2 separate regions of the Homo sapiens genome follow, and region 2 is linked to region 1. Evidence: promoter capture Hi-C in 16 types of primary human blood cells and fetal thymus (Javierre and others, 2016). All regions are on one chromosome and are shown on one strand. Each heading gives the region's core, a stretch centred on a gene start or on the middle of the fragment in contact. The rest is flanking DNA. Distances are from core to core; before and after follow the strand shown. Region 1 holds the start of RASL10A (RAS like family 10 member A). Region 2 overlaps THOC5 (THO complex subunit 5).

Evidence for each region. Contacts are between HindIII fragments. The CHiCAGO score rates a contact against its expected background, and 5 or more counts as called.
Region 2: a fragment that was not itself captured here is called in contact with the fragment with the promoter of RASL10A in region 1 in 1 of 17 cell types (naive B cells); the score reaches 5.3 in naive B cells.

What each region holds. Positions count from the first base shown.
Region 1 is chr22:29,311,322-29,319,007 of GRCh38, forward strand. RASL10A (RAS like family 10 member A) reads right to left here and starts at 4,376. Exons shown (of 3, transcript NM_006477.5): 1 at 3,707-4,376; 2 at 2,542-2,666; 3 at 1,612-2,247. The coding sequence starts at 3,925. The coding sequence ends at 1,980. GAS2L1 (growth arrest specific 2 like 1) reads left to right here. Exons shown (of 6, transcript NM_001362985.3): 6 at 141-1,466. The coding sequence ends at 1,176. RefSeq lists enhancers at 2,763-3,567, 3,568-4,372. The HindIII fragment of the contact is 16,106 bases long and covers 2,797-7,686 here.
Region 2 is chr22:29,524,099-29,531,784 of GRCh38, forward strand. It overlaps THOC5 (THO complex subunit 5), which reads right to left. Exons shown (of 20, transcript NM_003678.5): 9 at 5,064-5,141; 10 at 4,328-4,368; 11 at 3,980-4,079; 12 at 1,740-1,848. Among named protein-coding and RNA genes, the nearest start is that of THOC5, 26 kb to the right of the region's middle. The HindIII fragment of the contact is 357 bases long and covers 4,958-5,314 here.

The DNA of each region.
Region 1 (7,686 bases), core at 3,126-5,625:
CCCTGGAAGTCCCCAGGACAGACCGATGCCCCTGACAGCCCCGTCCACCAGCCACATACCCTGCTGTTCCTCTCCCTGCCTGTTCTGCATGCCAGTCCTTCCGTGGTACCCCATCTGTCTCTATTGTCCCCCTGCCCCAGGCCCCGGGATCAGCTGCCCCCCCATCCCCGCTCCCGCCGCTACTCCGGGGACAGTGACTCCTCAGCCTCCTCCGCCCAGAGCGGCCCCCTTGGTACCCGCAGTGATGACACAGGCACTGGCCCCCGGAGGGAGCGACCCAGCCGGCGGCTGACCACAGGCACCCCGGCCTCTCCGAGACGGCCTCCTGCCCTGCGCAGCCAGTCCCGAGACCGGCTGGATCGCGGCCGGCCCCGGGGGGCCCCAGGAGGCAGGGGAGCCCAGCTGTCGGTCCCCAGCCCTGCCCGGCGGGCCCGGAGCCAGAGCCGCGAGGAGCAGGCTGTGCTGCTTGTGCGCAGGGATCGAGACGGGCAGCACTCATGGGTGCCAAGGGGCAGGGGCAGTGGGGGCTCGGGCAGGAGCACCCCCCAGACTCCCCGTGCCCGCAGCCCTGCAGCACCCCGGCTTTCCCGGGTCTCCAGCCCCAGTCCAGAGTTGGGCACCACACCGGCCAGCATCTTCCGCACACCCCTGCAGCTCGACCCGCAGCAGGAGCAGCAGCTGTTCCGGCGCCTGGAAGAGGAGTTCCTGGCCAATGCCCGGGCCCTTGAGGCTGTTGCTAGCGTGACCCCCACTGGACCAGCCCCTGACCCAGCTCGGGCCCCCGACCCTCCAGCTCCTGACTCTGCCTATTGTTCCTCCAGTTCCTCCTCTTCGTCCCTCAGCGTCCTGGGTGGCAAATGTGGCCAACCTGGGGACTCTGGCCGGACGGCCAATGGGCTGCCTGGGCCCCGAAGCCAAGCCCTTTCCAGCTCCTCCGATGAAGGCAGCCCCTGCCCTGGCATGGGGGGGCCACTAGATGCACCTGGGAGCCCCCTGGCTTGCACTGAACCCTCGAGGACCTGGGCACGGGGTCGGATGGACACACAGCCAGACCGTAAACCCTCACGTATCCCCACGCCTCGGGGCCCCCGCCGCCCCTCCGGACCCGCAGAGCTGGGGACATGGCATGCCCTGCACTCAGTCACCCCGAGGGCTGAGCCAGATTCCTGGATGTGATGGACCAGCTCAGCTGTCCCCAGACCCCATCCCTTCTCCTTTTCCTTTGTGGCCTTAACCCTTCTGCATCAGGGAGCCCCCTCTGCCTCTTGAGTACCAGACCTCATGGGACCAGACCCCTTGGGACCACATGGCACAATGGGACCTCTGTTGTACATTCCGGTTGGGGGATGAGCGTTGCTATTTAATTACTAATATTATTGAATGCCTTAGAGGAGGCCGGGCGAGCCCGGTGTTCTGAAGACCTGTGGCCCAGCAGAGCCTCTGACAGTAAAGTTTTGCTCCAGCCACCTGTCTGTTTCTTGGGGACTCCACCTTGGGGCCATTCAGACCCTTTCGAGGACCCTGGAGTTAACTGCCTGGAGGCCAAGCCTGGCAACTCTGACCTCTAGGCTTAAGGCGTTATCCCGCCCAGCCCAGAAATCCCAGGCGCACTCAAATTATTTTCCCTTTTATTATCCCGTGGTAGGTGTGGCATAAAGAATATGTCCAGTGAAGCTCCAGGAGCAGGCTGCGTGTTTCCAGTCAAGTTCATAGCCAAGTCCTTTCCATCCAATGGGATTGTGACCCATTGAGGTCCCAGAAAGGACTGGTCATCTCCAATGGAGCTTGGGACCTGGTTGGGTCCAATGAGGTTCAAAAGGGGGCCAGTCGCTTAGGAGACTGGGTTGGAGCTTTCCTCATCCAATCAGGGCGGAGACTTCCCTGTCCAGTCCCAGTGAAGTTGGGCGATCCCGTCCAATCCAGGTCCCTGATTGTCCCAGTCACAAGGTGGGGCCCATGGATGGCACTGTCCGATCGGGTCACATGAGGCTGCAGCGCGCGGGATGCAGCGCCCCCTGCAGGCGCAGGGCCGGGTGTGCAGGGCGCGCGCGCACCAGAGCGCAGCGCAGCAGCTCGCGGAAGAGACGCAGCACGTGCCAGTTGTACTTGGCGGAGCACTCGAGGTAGCCGCAGCGCCAGCCCCTGCGCACTAGGGCGGCCAGCGCGCGCCGCGGTCCGAAGCGCAGCCGCTGCCTGTCCCGCTTGTTGCCTACCACGAGGATGGGCGCTTCGGGCGCGCCCGCCGGCCTGGGGGCCGAATGGAGATGAGAGACGCGGGGACCCCACGGCCGGAGAATTCCCCCAGTGGGTATACACACGCAGGCGCATTCCCTTCCTACGGCCAGAGACACCGCCCCCCCCGCCGCCCCAACGAAACCCCAGGCCCATGTGGGCCAAAGAGCACATACAGCTTAAGACCTTCCCACGGGCGAAGGCCTAAGACCCGGCCCACGACGTTGGGAGACCCTACACACTCTCCTCAGGCAAAGGCCCTGCCAGACCTGTCCTAGCTCCCCACCGCCAGAACTGCCGGGCCCCTACCTGGTCTCCGCGATGCGCTGCCGCAGGGCCTTCACGTAGTCGAAACTGTCCGGGCTGCAGATGTCGTAGACGAGCACGAAGGCGTCCGTGTCCTGCAAGCTCCAGTCCTTAGCGTCTGGCCACTCCTGGGGACAGGAGGCCAGGGTTTGCGGAAGCCTCCTTTCCACTCTTCCGCTCTCGAACCCTCTGCAGGGGCCTGGACGCTAATCCTCAGGCCAACATCACCCCCATACAGACCTCTGTGCCCCTCCCCCAAGCTTTCCGGGCCGTCTCCTCATGACCACCAGGGTAAAATTTTCCAAATCGTGCCTGGAGCCTGTCAGCCAGCCTCCTTCATCCTTGGTCTCCCCTCTGTTTACCCCGAATCTTCCTCTTTTCAGCTTTCCCCAACTCGGCTCAGGCCGCTCTCCTCCCTAGATGCTCTCGGTGCTTACCACGGCCTCTAAGACTAATTCCAAAGCCCTTGGCCCGAGTCCCGTGGTCCACCACGCCCCCAGATTGTCAGCTGTAACCGTTTATGACCGTAGCGTAAGCACCTGCTGGTCTTTCCACCTGGTATGTTTTTGCCACTTCCTTTACTCAGAACTTCACTCGGTCTTCCAGGTTCAGCTCAAATGCCACTCCCTCCAGGAAGCCCTGCTTAATCCTGCCTGCTCTTTCCTCTTCACTGCTCTAGGGTCGGAGGTCTGTCCTTTACTTTGCACAAATTACTAAACGAGTCTTCGCTCCAGGGGACAAAAATGATAGGGCAGAGAATGAACCCCTCCACCAGCCCCCGTAGAAAGTACACCCCTGCTCCTGACCCCAGTCTCTCCCATTGTAGCTCTGCTCAAGGCCCCAAACACAAAACGCCACACTCTCGGGAAGGCACCGTTATGCACCACCAAGAGCTGCTCCACACCCCCAGCCGAGGCAGGCAAAGGTGGAGGCGCTCACAGGAGCAAGGGAACGCCCCTGGGCAAAATCGCCCGGCCTCCAGCCTGGGCTTGGGCGTCTCCAGGTCGGCGGGAAGGGCTGAAACGCAAGTATCCCAGGACGCACACACATCCCTCCATCCCGGAGCACAGCCAGGCGCCCGAGGCCTCCACGCGGACACGCACGTGTGCACCGAGCACGCACACCCCTCACACTGTCACACGCCCCTGCCCGCTCCTCGAGCCGCTACCTCCGGACCCCCGGGGCTCGAGCCGGGGCCAGCGACGTCGCCGTCGCGGATGCTCAAGTCGTAGACGGCGCCGTCGAGCAGCACCGCGGGTCGGTAGAGGCGCGGCCCGTCCGTGGGCCGGTGGCGCTCGGGGTAGTCACCGAACAGGAACTGGCGGATGATGGCCGTCTTGCCCACGCCCGGGGCGCCTAGAACGGCCACCCGCAGGCTACCCCCCATGGCCGGCCGGCGCTGTCGCTCCCCGCGCTGGAAAGCCTCATGGGCCGGCGCCGCACCGTGCGCCCCCAGGCCGTGCGCCCCGCGCGCCCTGCCCGGTGCGCCACGGCCCCGTCGCGCTTCTCGTCGCCCCTCGGAGCACCGAGACCGGAGAGGGCAGGCCCGAGGCAGGAGCTGGCGGCGGGAGGGCAGACAGACAGCCGAGTGGGCAGACAGGTGGCGGGCGCGCGAGCGGCTCGGGCGGGTGCCGAAGCTCGAGAGAGAGCAGAGCCGGAGCGGCGCTCAGACACCGCCTCCGCCCCGCAGCGCCAACCCAGGCGCCGGCGGACGCGCGAGGCGCCGAAGTCCGCCCCTCTCGCGGCGCGGGTCCCGCAGCGGTGCGGGGCGCGGGGGGCAGCGCTGCCTCCCGGAGCCTCTGTGCCTCTATCCTTCTCTCGCTTCCGCGCCTGGAGTCGCCGCCCCAGCCGCCGGCGCGAGCGAGCGGGGCCTCCCGGAGGCGGCGATGAGGTAACCGCCCGCCCCTCCCACCTTCCCCCACCGCCCAGGACGCCCCTCCCAGGAAGGGTCGCAGGAAGGTGACTGGGGGACAGAGATCCCGGAGAGGGCCTACCCCTTCCTTACCTCCTCCGCGTGTCCCGCTCCTCTCACCCGCTCCAAAATAGAAGCCCCTTCCCACCCACTGCCGCGGCCGCTCTTCCAAACACTGCTCGCCCCCACGCTGGCTCCCGACAAGCCCCGGCCCCCGGAGTCAGGCCGCCCGGGGTCCGAATTGGGGGGGGCGGCTGTGTGACCTTGGGCGAATCGCCGCACTGCGCTGGGTCTGCGCTCCGCATCCATCACAGGCAGACTCCTCAAGAGGCTCCAACCTTTTCTTGAGAGCCTACTATGTGCCAGGCCCATTACCTACGTGATTCTCGAACCTACAGCCTCAGCCTGGCATCGCTGGTTGAGAGAAGAGGAAACAGGCCCGAGAGGGGAATCTGCAAGGTTAGAAGGGCAGTGGGGGGGCCCTTGAAGTCTCCTTTGAAGTCCCTCCTACCTTCCTCCTGCCCACGGGGGTAAATGGCCCACACTAGACAATATTCAAACAGCCGTCCTCGAGGGGAAGTGGGGACAGAGGGTGCCGAGACCACAGCAGCTTAGCCCCAGATCCCTGTCCCAGCAAGGCTGGAGGTGACTAAATAAAGATCCAGAAATTGGCCCACTCCACCTCCATCACTACTAAGGTCACCTTTCCTGCGTGAGTTGCAACCCGTAGCGCCCCTCAAAGGGATGCAACCTCCAAAACAGGCGCCCAGAGCCCAAGTTCCCCCTCCCTCGAGCTAGTGGAGAAGCTCCTGCCCCATCACAGCTTGGAAAGCCTGGGTTAGCCCAGCCCCCCCATCCTCCGCCTCTGCTCTCCTCCCCGCTGTGTGGGGGCTCCCACGTCTCTGACCTGCACATGGCAATGCTCAAGAAATGGCGGCAATGCTCAAGAAATGGCCGCAATGCACAGATCTCTGCACTGACTAAGGAGTTCATTTATTTATCCCCTCAACAAATATTCCAAATCTTATTGCTTGTCAGGAGGCTGAGATAGATTTAAAAAACAGAAAACAGGAAAAAAAAAAAAAGTTCTGCTTTGGGAGAGAAGGTTCTAGAACACATGGGATCTAGGGACTGTCAAAGCACAGACAATGTGCCCACACCAGCCCAGGGGAAGTAGAGGAGCTAAATCCTGAAGGGGGAGGAGGCACATCCTCCAGGGAGCCTGTATAATGACAACCAGAAAGTGTCTCCAGAACAATGGCTGTGCTTTCATCCTCCCATGCTAGATCGGGGGCTGGGGTCCGCTTTCACTCCTCTCCTCAGCCACTAGGAAGCTCAGAACCACCTCTGTCTAGTGTTCCAGGTCTTCTAGCTCAGTGAGTGGGGACTGCTGGCTTCATCTTTCTTTCCTACCATGATTTTTCCCTTCACTTGATGTCCTCTTTCACGTTGTAACTTTTCAGACTTCTGGGTTTTGTTGTTTGAGACAAGGTCTTGCTCTGTCACCCAAGCTGGAGTGCAGTGGTGTGATCTTAGCTCACTGCATCCTCAACCTCCTGGGTTCAAGTGATCCTCCTTGCCTCAGTCTCTCAAATAGCTGGGACTGCAGGTGTGTACTACGACATCCAGCTGATTTATTTTTATTTTTTGTAGAGGTGGAATCTCACTATGTTGCCCAGGCTGGTCTTGAACTCCTGGCTTAAGCAATCCTCCCTCCTCAGCCTCCAAAAGTGCGAGGATTACAGGCGTGAGCCACCACATCTGGCCAAACTTCTGGGTTTTTGACTTTTCAGGCTTCTGGGTTTTGTGAGCTGCTTCAATTCCTTCGGGGAACAAGGCAAGGAGTAAATAACAAGGCACTCAGCAACACAACAACAAAACCCAGAAGTCTGAAAAGCTGACACCAGGACGGTCTTTTGTTTGTTTGTTTTGAGATGGAGTCTCGGTCTGTCACCCAGGCTGGAGTGCAGTGGTGCGATCTTGGCTCACTGCAACCTCCACCTCCTGGGTTCAAGCAATTCTCCTGTCTCAGCCTCTAGAGTAGCTGGGACTACAGGCACATGCCACCATGCCCGGCTAATTTTTGTGTTTTTTAGTAGAGACGGGGTTTCACCATATTGGTCAGGCTGGTCTCGAACTGCTGACCTCAGGTGATCCACCCGCCTCAGCCTCCCAAAGTGCTGGGGTTTCAGGCATGAGCCACTGCGCCCGGCCAGGACGGTCTTTTTTAAGGTGTTCTCAATGCTAGGCGCACTCCCGCCCACCCCTGGGTATTCTTTCTCTGAAAAACTTTCCTTGCTTCTCCTTCCGACACTGCAAACAGAGCTGTGTGTGAGGCGTCTCTGGCTCCCAGTATGTGTTTTTGGATGGCGAGGGGAAGGGGCACTGTGGACTGGGAACGTCCTGAGGCTCCCATGAAGCCCTGCAAACGTGCCATGTTCCCTAGGAGACTCTCACAGCAGCGTTCCTAGCAGCAGTGCCCATTTATCAAGGGCCTGCGATGTGCCAAGCCTGACCCACAGCCTCATGCTCACTAAGGCTCCCTGGGACGCCATGATTGGGCCACAGTTGCCTAGCAGGAAAATGGCAGCACAGGGGCCGGAACCCAGGCCCTTGGGCTCCAGAGCCTGGCTGAGAAGCCTGGCTTCATCTGGACCCAGAGGGTTCTCAGGAAGTACTCAACTGAAGCTCAGCCCCCAGTGACCACTCAGCCCCCTGTCGGGAGGGACTTGGGGAGGCCTCTAGGTCCCGTGGAGCCCCCCATCCACAGGGGCTGAAATGAGCTCTAATGGGAGTGTGCAGCCCTGTGCCAGGCTTCCTAAAGACCAGCAGGCTGGGGGGCTGAAGCTGCCTGTCTGCCTGGGATGTGGATTTCAGGGTTCTCTCATCAGTCCCCTCATTCCTTCCCCAAGGAAAGGCTGTAGGCCTCCTGCCTGCTGCCCCCCTCCAATCCCTATTCCCCAGGGGCCTCCTGGGCACTCCTTGAATGCCCCTATCCAGGGCTCCAGGGACCACCTGCCAACTATGCATGCATCTTCTCCTTCAGCAGAGGGGACTGGCACTAGGCACACAGTGGCCAAGGTGGTCCTGCCTACCCTCTGTGGCAGGGAGAAAGAGACAGACATGCAGCTAGGCAGGGACGGGTGAAGACAGGAGCTCTGGGCTGGTTCAGGCCTGGGGAGATGAGGAGGCCTAGGGTAAGCACCAGTCCAGCGGGAGTTGAGGGGCTTATACTG
Region 2 (7,686 bases), core at 3,886-6,385, 210 kb after region 1:
CAGTTTCACAGTGGCATCTCCTTTTATGTCTCCTCCCTGTTTGGGGGTCAGGGCCCACCTGGCTATGACAGCAGTGGTATACAGGTCTTGCTGACTTCGAATCATAATTCTCCACTCTCTACCTGTGACCTTGAGGCTACCCCTTAACTGTCCAGAGCCTCAGTTAACTCACCTCATAGAGCTATTGTGAAAGTTACAAGAGTCAATGATTATAAATCAGCTGTCCTTTACCAAGTGCTTCCTCTATGCTAAGCACTTGACCTGACTCTTCACAAGCACCCTGGGAGGGGATATTACAATTAACAACCACACAGCGAGGAAACAGATTCTGAGGCCAGGTATACAGCTTAGTGAAGAGCTGGAGTTGAGCATGCAATAAAGCCAGGCTGCAGCCCTGTTATTAGCATGTAGGGCACCTGAGAAATGAACAAGCAGAATGTTCATGATGAGCTCTACCACGATCTGGGGGCCCTGGAACTCCTCAATGAACTGAGAGCCCTGGACAGTGTAACTGGGTGCTCAGAAGCAAGCCCTGGGCTCCCTCTGCTGGGGTCAGATGGGAACAGGGGCAATTTCATCCAGAGCACCCCTGGGGGTGTCCAACAACACTCTCAGGCACAGCAGCCAAAGCTGCTATGGCCTGAAGGGGATGTGGACTCTAAGGGCAGTCTAAAACCCAAGAGACACCAGCATCATGGAGAACTGGCAGGGGTGGAAAGAGCCCTGCTCTACCAGGCACCAGAGCTGTACCTCCCTAAGCCTCAGTGGTCTTTCTGCAGCTGACAGTGGGACTAGGTCAGGGCAGTGCTCTTGTGAATGGAAGCTATTTCACCCTCAGCCCCGCATGACCCTTCTTCCCGCCCATGTTTGCAGAAGAAGAATGCCATGATTGGGCCAGGTATGGTGACTCATGCCTGGAATTCCAGCACTGTGAGAGGCAGAGACGGGAGGAGTGCTTGAGGCCAGGAGTTCAAGACCACCCTGGGCAACACAGCAAGACCCCGTTTCTATAAAATAAAAATAGAAAGTCAGCCAGGCATGGTGGCATGCACCTGTAGTCCTAGTTACTCAGGAGGCTGAGGTAGGAGGATCACTACAGCCCAGAAGTTTGAGGCCACAGTGAGCTATGATTATGCCATGGTCCTCCAGTCTGGGCAACATAGTGAGACTGTGTATCAACAAAAATAGAAATTAAAAAAAGAACACTGTAGTCAGGGCCTTCCTGGGGATGCGATGATGGCTGTCATTACTGTGCCTCTGCTCACTCTTCTCAAAACTTTCACAGGGACCCACCACAGTCCTCCCACCACCCAGATAAGGACATGGGCTTGGGCTGAGCTGGGGAGCAAAAATCCCAGCACCTTGGGATAGAAAGAGAAAAGGGAAAGAGTGGCCTGAATTTGGCAACCTAATAATGTCTGCCAAATCTCATTTTATATTCACACACTTTCCACTGGTAGCAAAAAGCTGGTGCTCTGCCCCACCTACTCAATTTGCAAATATGCTGTTGTCACTTTTATCATCTGCTGTGTAGTAAGAGGACTTCACAAATTAAAGTCAGAGAGTGCTTTCTAAATACCAGCGATGTGCCAGGACTTCTGGTCCATCTGGATACAAGACAAGTCAACACAGCCGTAGCCCTCTCCAGAGCCAGAGGGAGGAACCGAGAGCAGCCCCACAATGAGGCTCTCATCACCTCCCCATCCCGCACGTCATTGCCCAGAGCGCCTGCTCAATACCCTGCACTGATGGGGGTGATCAGCTCCATGGCAGTTGTCACTTTGGCTTTTACTGTCATGATGTTGAGGTTCATGAGGTAGTAGAAAGTCAGGTGAAGCACACTGTCATCTGGAGGGGAGGAAGATGAGAGAATTTATGAGTCAAAACACTCAGAGCAGAGTGAACAGAGTCATAGGGGGTAGTAAGGTGGGGGGGTCAAGTGTTGAAAAACTAACTACTAGGTATTATGCCCACTACCTAGGTGACGGGATCATTCATACCCCAAACCTCAGGACCACGCAAAATAGTGTAACAAATCGGCACATGTATCCCCAGAATCGAAAATAAAAGTTGAAATTATAACAAAAAAAGAAAAACAGAATTATAGAAAAATTCAGAGACTTTTACAATCATTTACTATAAAAACAAAATCGGCCAGGCGCGGTGGCTCACACCTGTAATCCCAGCACTCTGGGAGGCCAAGGTGGGCAGATCATGAAGTCAGGAGATCGAGACCATCCTGGCTAACACAGTGAAACCCCGTCTCTACTAAAAATACAAAAAATCAGTCGGGCGTGGTGGCGGGCACCTGTAGTCCCAGCTACTTGGGAGGCTGAGGCAGGAGAATGGTGTGAACCCAGGAGGTGGAGCTTGCAGTGAGCAGAGATCACGCCACTGCACTCCAGCCTGGGCAACAGAGCGAGACTCTGTCTCAAGAAAAAAAAAAATCACAACAGTAATATAATGAACAAAAAGAAGCAAGGAGAGCATCTACAAATTCTTTGCTACGCTTCCCACCAAGAGGTAGGGCTTAATTTCTCTGCCCTTGAGAGTGGGCTGGACTTAGTGACTCTGCTTCTAACAAATACAAGATGGAAAGGGAACCAAGCGATCAAGGTCAATATCAGCAGAAATAATACAGTGGCATCAGGTACTCCTGATATGACATGATAGCGACGACCTCATCTATGCTATTCTCTCCCCCAAATCCATAATCTCAGTCTAATCAAGGTCATGAAACACAAGGAAAGACTGAGACACTCACTGCCTAGAGCAGACTAAGGAGCATGGCAACTAAATGCACTTTGAGACCCTGGCTTGGATCTTGGGACAGAAAAAGGACATTAATTAAAAAAGGAAGAAACTAAAAAAATTCTGTCATTTTGTTAACAGTATTGGGCCAATGAAATTAAGAGTGGTGTGGATCGCTGTTAATCATACCATCTTTAATTAAGATGTAACTTTAGGGAAGCTGAATGAAGAGTATATAGGAACTCATGTTATTTTGGCAAGTCTTCTATGAGCCTAAAATTATCTCAAAGCCAGCCATGGTGGTGCACGCTTCCAGTCCTAGCTACTTAGGAGGCTGAGGCAGGAGGATCGTTTGAGCCCAGGGGTTCAAGACCAGCCTGGGCAACATGACAAAACCCCATCTCTACAAAAAATACAAAAATTAACTGGCATGATGGCACATGCCTGTAGCCCCCGCTACTTGGGAGGCTGATGTGGGAAGATCGATTGAGCCCAGGAGGTTGAAGTTGCAGTGAGCCGTGATCATGCCACTGTACTCCAGCCTGGATGACGAGAGTGAGACCCTATCTCTAAAAACAAACAAACAAACAAACAACCAGCAAAAAGAAAACCAGTGCGTAGAGCCTATTTCCATTTGTGTAAAAAATAAAGTGGGAAGCAGATAAATATACATTTGTATAAAAGCTTCCAGGTGCAAAGAATCTTTCTAAAAAATACATAAGAAGTCTGTAATAATGGTTGCCCTTGGAGGTGAGACCTAGGACTGGTATATAGGAACCTGTGGTGAGAGGGAAACTTAAATTTTACTGTTAGCTCTTCTACTGCTAGAACATTTTATTATATGGTACTTTTTCATACAAACCAACTTCAAAACATATACTCTGCAGAATACAAAGTTCTACTTACATTTATTAAACATGTTGGTCTTACTAAAAACCTGTATACTTTTGCAACTTGTTCTAGATATTTGACTTGCTAGATTCAGAAAGAGGTATAGTTTTCTCAAGCTTCTGCCTTATGTGACTGGAGTTTTGTTGCTATGTTGTTACGGTTATGATTTAACAAAAAGAAACAAAGTCCATGCAAAACAATAAGGAAAAACAAAGCAATATGAAATGGGAATCCTTTGTTGGGCAAATGGGTGTTTGGCTCCCGGACCCTCTGCACCTGCAGCTGGGTGAACTCTTAGGTGCTACAGATCCCTTAAACAAGGTGAGTGCAACCAGACCTTTGCACTTCAGGTCGAGCATGACAGACAGTGGGTGCCTCTTCAGCATCTCCTTGCGTTTGTCGTCCAACTGAACCCCCAGTGTGGGTCTCCGGCGCTTCTGGACAAAGGAAAGTGCCAAGCTGATGAGCATCAGTCATAGCAATCTCCCCTTCCCTCTCCCAACCAGCCAGGCCTCAGCCCTACTGCCTGGCACCTGCTGCTTCAGCTAGCTGGGTTGTCAGACTCCCCTCCCAGCAGCACCTTCTTTCACACCTCTTCTGCTTCTAGGGAGGACGGCACCTGCGAACAAGCATGCCCCAGTGCATGCAGCTGCTTGATGCCCCCACAAGAGGAAATGGTTCTCACCGTAGTCTGCTCCTCCTCGGCATCTGAGTCACTCTCGTCATCTGCAGCCACAGAGAGAAGGCAGCTAGAGGTGAGGGGGCTCCAAATGCTCCCTAAAGCACTCCAACCCACATGGCATAAAGGGGCCCTGACTCTGTCTTTTGTAAATAAGTTTCTCTGTAATAAATAATAAATTAACTTGCTGCTTCTTATTCAGTATACAAAACATGGTGATGAAAAAAGAAAAAAGAAGAATGACGTATAACTCATTTTTTTCAAAGGGCTTTTTGATGTCATTTAGATGGAACACAAGCCCCTCCTTGTGATGGTGGTGGTGGCTGTGGTAATAATAGTAACACAAATAATAATAATAGTAGTAGAAGCATGCATAACTTGAGGGGGTACTATGTGCTGAGAATTATGCTAAAGGCTGTATGTGCATTACCTTATTTAATCCACATAACAATCCTACATGAGGTGTTACTATCTGTTTTCACAAAGGAATAAACTGAGGCTCTGAAATATTAAATACCTTCCTCGGGGTCAGTCAGCTAGTGAGTGGCAGGGCTGAAATCCACGGGCCGCACCTTGTGACTCCGGGAAGTGAGCTCTCTTTCCTGTCTACTCCAGGGTGCTAAGACATTCAAGTCAAGCTTCCTGCTACACAGAACTAGTCCAGCTAGTTCTCCAAAGACCAGGACTGCCCTTGGATGGTGACCTGGTGTCCCTGGGGGACGAATCCCAACCACCACATTACCTTGGGAGTCCTCTGGAGGTTTGAACAGAGCCTTGGCTTCATCCACACTGCCTTCGATTGCCACAGATAACGTCTTATCTGGGGGGCAAGAAGAAGTCTGTTAGGAAAGCTGCTGAGGAAAGCTGCTAAGCAGTGTGAGTAGGCCAGCTCTGGGGCTGCATTTCTCCCACCTCTGCCCAGCTCCTTGCTGACTAAGGGTGGAAGGGCAAAAGTCCTTGCTCCAGATGAAGGGAAACAAGGTGGGACACTTAAGCTTTTTTTTCCGTCATTTACTGAGAACAGAGAACTTAAGTACAAATTCCTAAACCAGCATCACCTGAAACTAGCAGTGAATGCCTCTCTTTTTTGGTGCACACCAAAGCACAGAAATTCAAACTGAGGGCCTAAAGCCACATGGAACTCCTCTGCCAGTTGTCTTAGAGGTTCTCACCCAGAAATCCACACCTGTCCACATCCCAGAAACAATGACTCTCACCTAAGTGCTTATTCTCTATTCTACACTATACCAAGCACATGGCTGCCATTGTCTCACTTAACTGGGAGGCAGTAGGACAGTGAATAGGAACTTGGATCTTGCAGTCCAGTTCCAGACCTGAGTCCCTGCCTAACCAATTCTCAAACACATGACCTGGAAAGTTATGTCACTGTCTGAGCCTCAGTTTCTGTATCTATGAAAAGGGGACTTGAAAAATAGTAGCTGCCGGGTGCAGTGGCTCACACCTGTAATCTCAGCACTTTGGGAGGCCGAGGCAGGTGGATCACCTGAGGTCAGGAGTTCAGAGACCAGCCTGGCCAACATGGCAAAATCCCGTCTGTACTAAAAATACAAAAATTAGCTGTGTGTGGTGGCATGTGCCTGTAACCCCATCTACTTGGGAGGCTGAGACAGGAGAATTGCTTGAATCCAGGAGGTGGAGGTTACTGTGAACCAAGATCATGCTACTGCACTGCAGCCTGGGCAACAGAGTGAGACTCTGTCTCAAAAAAAAAAGAAAAAAGAAAAACAGTAGCTGCCCCATTAGTGGTGGGGACTGAATGAGCTGATGCTTGTAATTTTAATTATAAAATTATTAAAAATTAATTTTTAGGCTGGGTGTGGTGGCTCATGTCTGGTTGGGAGGCCAAGGTGAGTGGATCACCTGAGATCAGGAGTTCGAGACCAGCCTGGCCAACATGGTGAAACTCTGTCTCTACTAAATATATAAAAATTAGCCAGGCACGGTGGTGGGTGCCTGTAATCCCAGCTACTTGGGAGGCTGAGGCAGGGAGAATTGCTTGAACCTGGGAAGCAGAGGTTGCAGTGAGCCAAGATCATGCCACTGCACTCCAGCCTGGGCAACAGAGCCAGACTCCATCTCAAAAAAAAAAATTTTTTTTAATACTCACAACAACCCTACAGGAGTAATACATTATAGCCATTTATAGATGAGAAACTTAAGGCTCAGAGAAGCTAGACATCACAGCTATAAGGCTGATAAACCAGGATTCAAGACCAGGTCTGTTCAACTTAAGCTTGGCCTCTCCAGCACATGAGCTAACAGCCTGTTGCATACACCAGGTATGACACCTCATTGAGTGATGTCTTGAGACCCCCTCTGAGGGTCTAGCGTTGTGAGGTCAGACAGGCCACCACCGTCCAACTCCATTCTTAAGGGTACATATGGTCCCAAGAGCCTGAAACGGTTTGCCTAGCCACACTAAGGAGGGATGGCAAACTTCCCCCAAGTGGCTGACCACTGCCTTATCTATGGCAACCCTATGTGAATCACCACCCTTCACCCCAAGCAACTAGTTGCTCCCATCAAGCACTGGCAAACAACAGACTATTTTTTTCAGCCATTTAATATTAGCATTCTACAAGAACATCAGAATGGAACAGGCCGATTTTAAACATAAAAGAAAAGAAAATTACTCACCCTGTCTAGGGGGCTGGGAGGATTTCATATGAGCTGATGATGGAAACAGGAGGGAGAACAAAGGGGAGGGGAGGACCAGAAGGACGAGGAAGACACAAGAAGAGACAGTAATGTGTTGGTGCCCAAGGTGGGAGGAGAAGCAAGCACTGGTGCGGTGTATGTCTGTCTGATGAGGTGGGGTGGGGTGGGGGAGAAAATGTAGGTGCTGGGTGAAAGCTGCATTAGGGCAAAAGGCAGAGTCTCCAAAATTTTCTCAAAACCCTAGCAGAGTCACAGGCTGCCCTCAAGCTTAATGAGGACATATCATCTAACCTGGAAATTCACAACAAAGACATGCAGCCTGATTCAAGGCATGGTGAAAGCCTGGGAGAGCTGGCTGAGACCTGTATTCACCAGGCACCCCCACCCTGAAGCAGAGCAAGAGGCACTGATCTAACTGCCAAGCGTGCCTTGATGGGGTGAGCACCTGGGAGCCCAGACAGGCTGCCTGGGTTCTGCACCCAAGAGCTGTCCAGCCAGGCTCACGAATGACTCAAAGCCACCCATTGTGAAATACCCATCAGGTTAATCCAGCCTTAGGCCAGCTGGTCAGAGCAGCCATGCTGGGCAATGCAGAGGGAAGAAAGCTTCTGTCACCTGAGGGCTTCGGGCAGGACTGAGAAATTTCCTGAGCAGGTACTGCTTCCAACTGATTCACTCGGCCACAG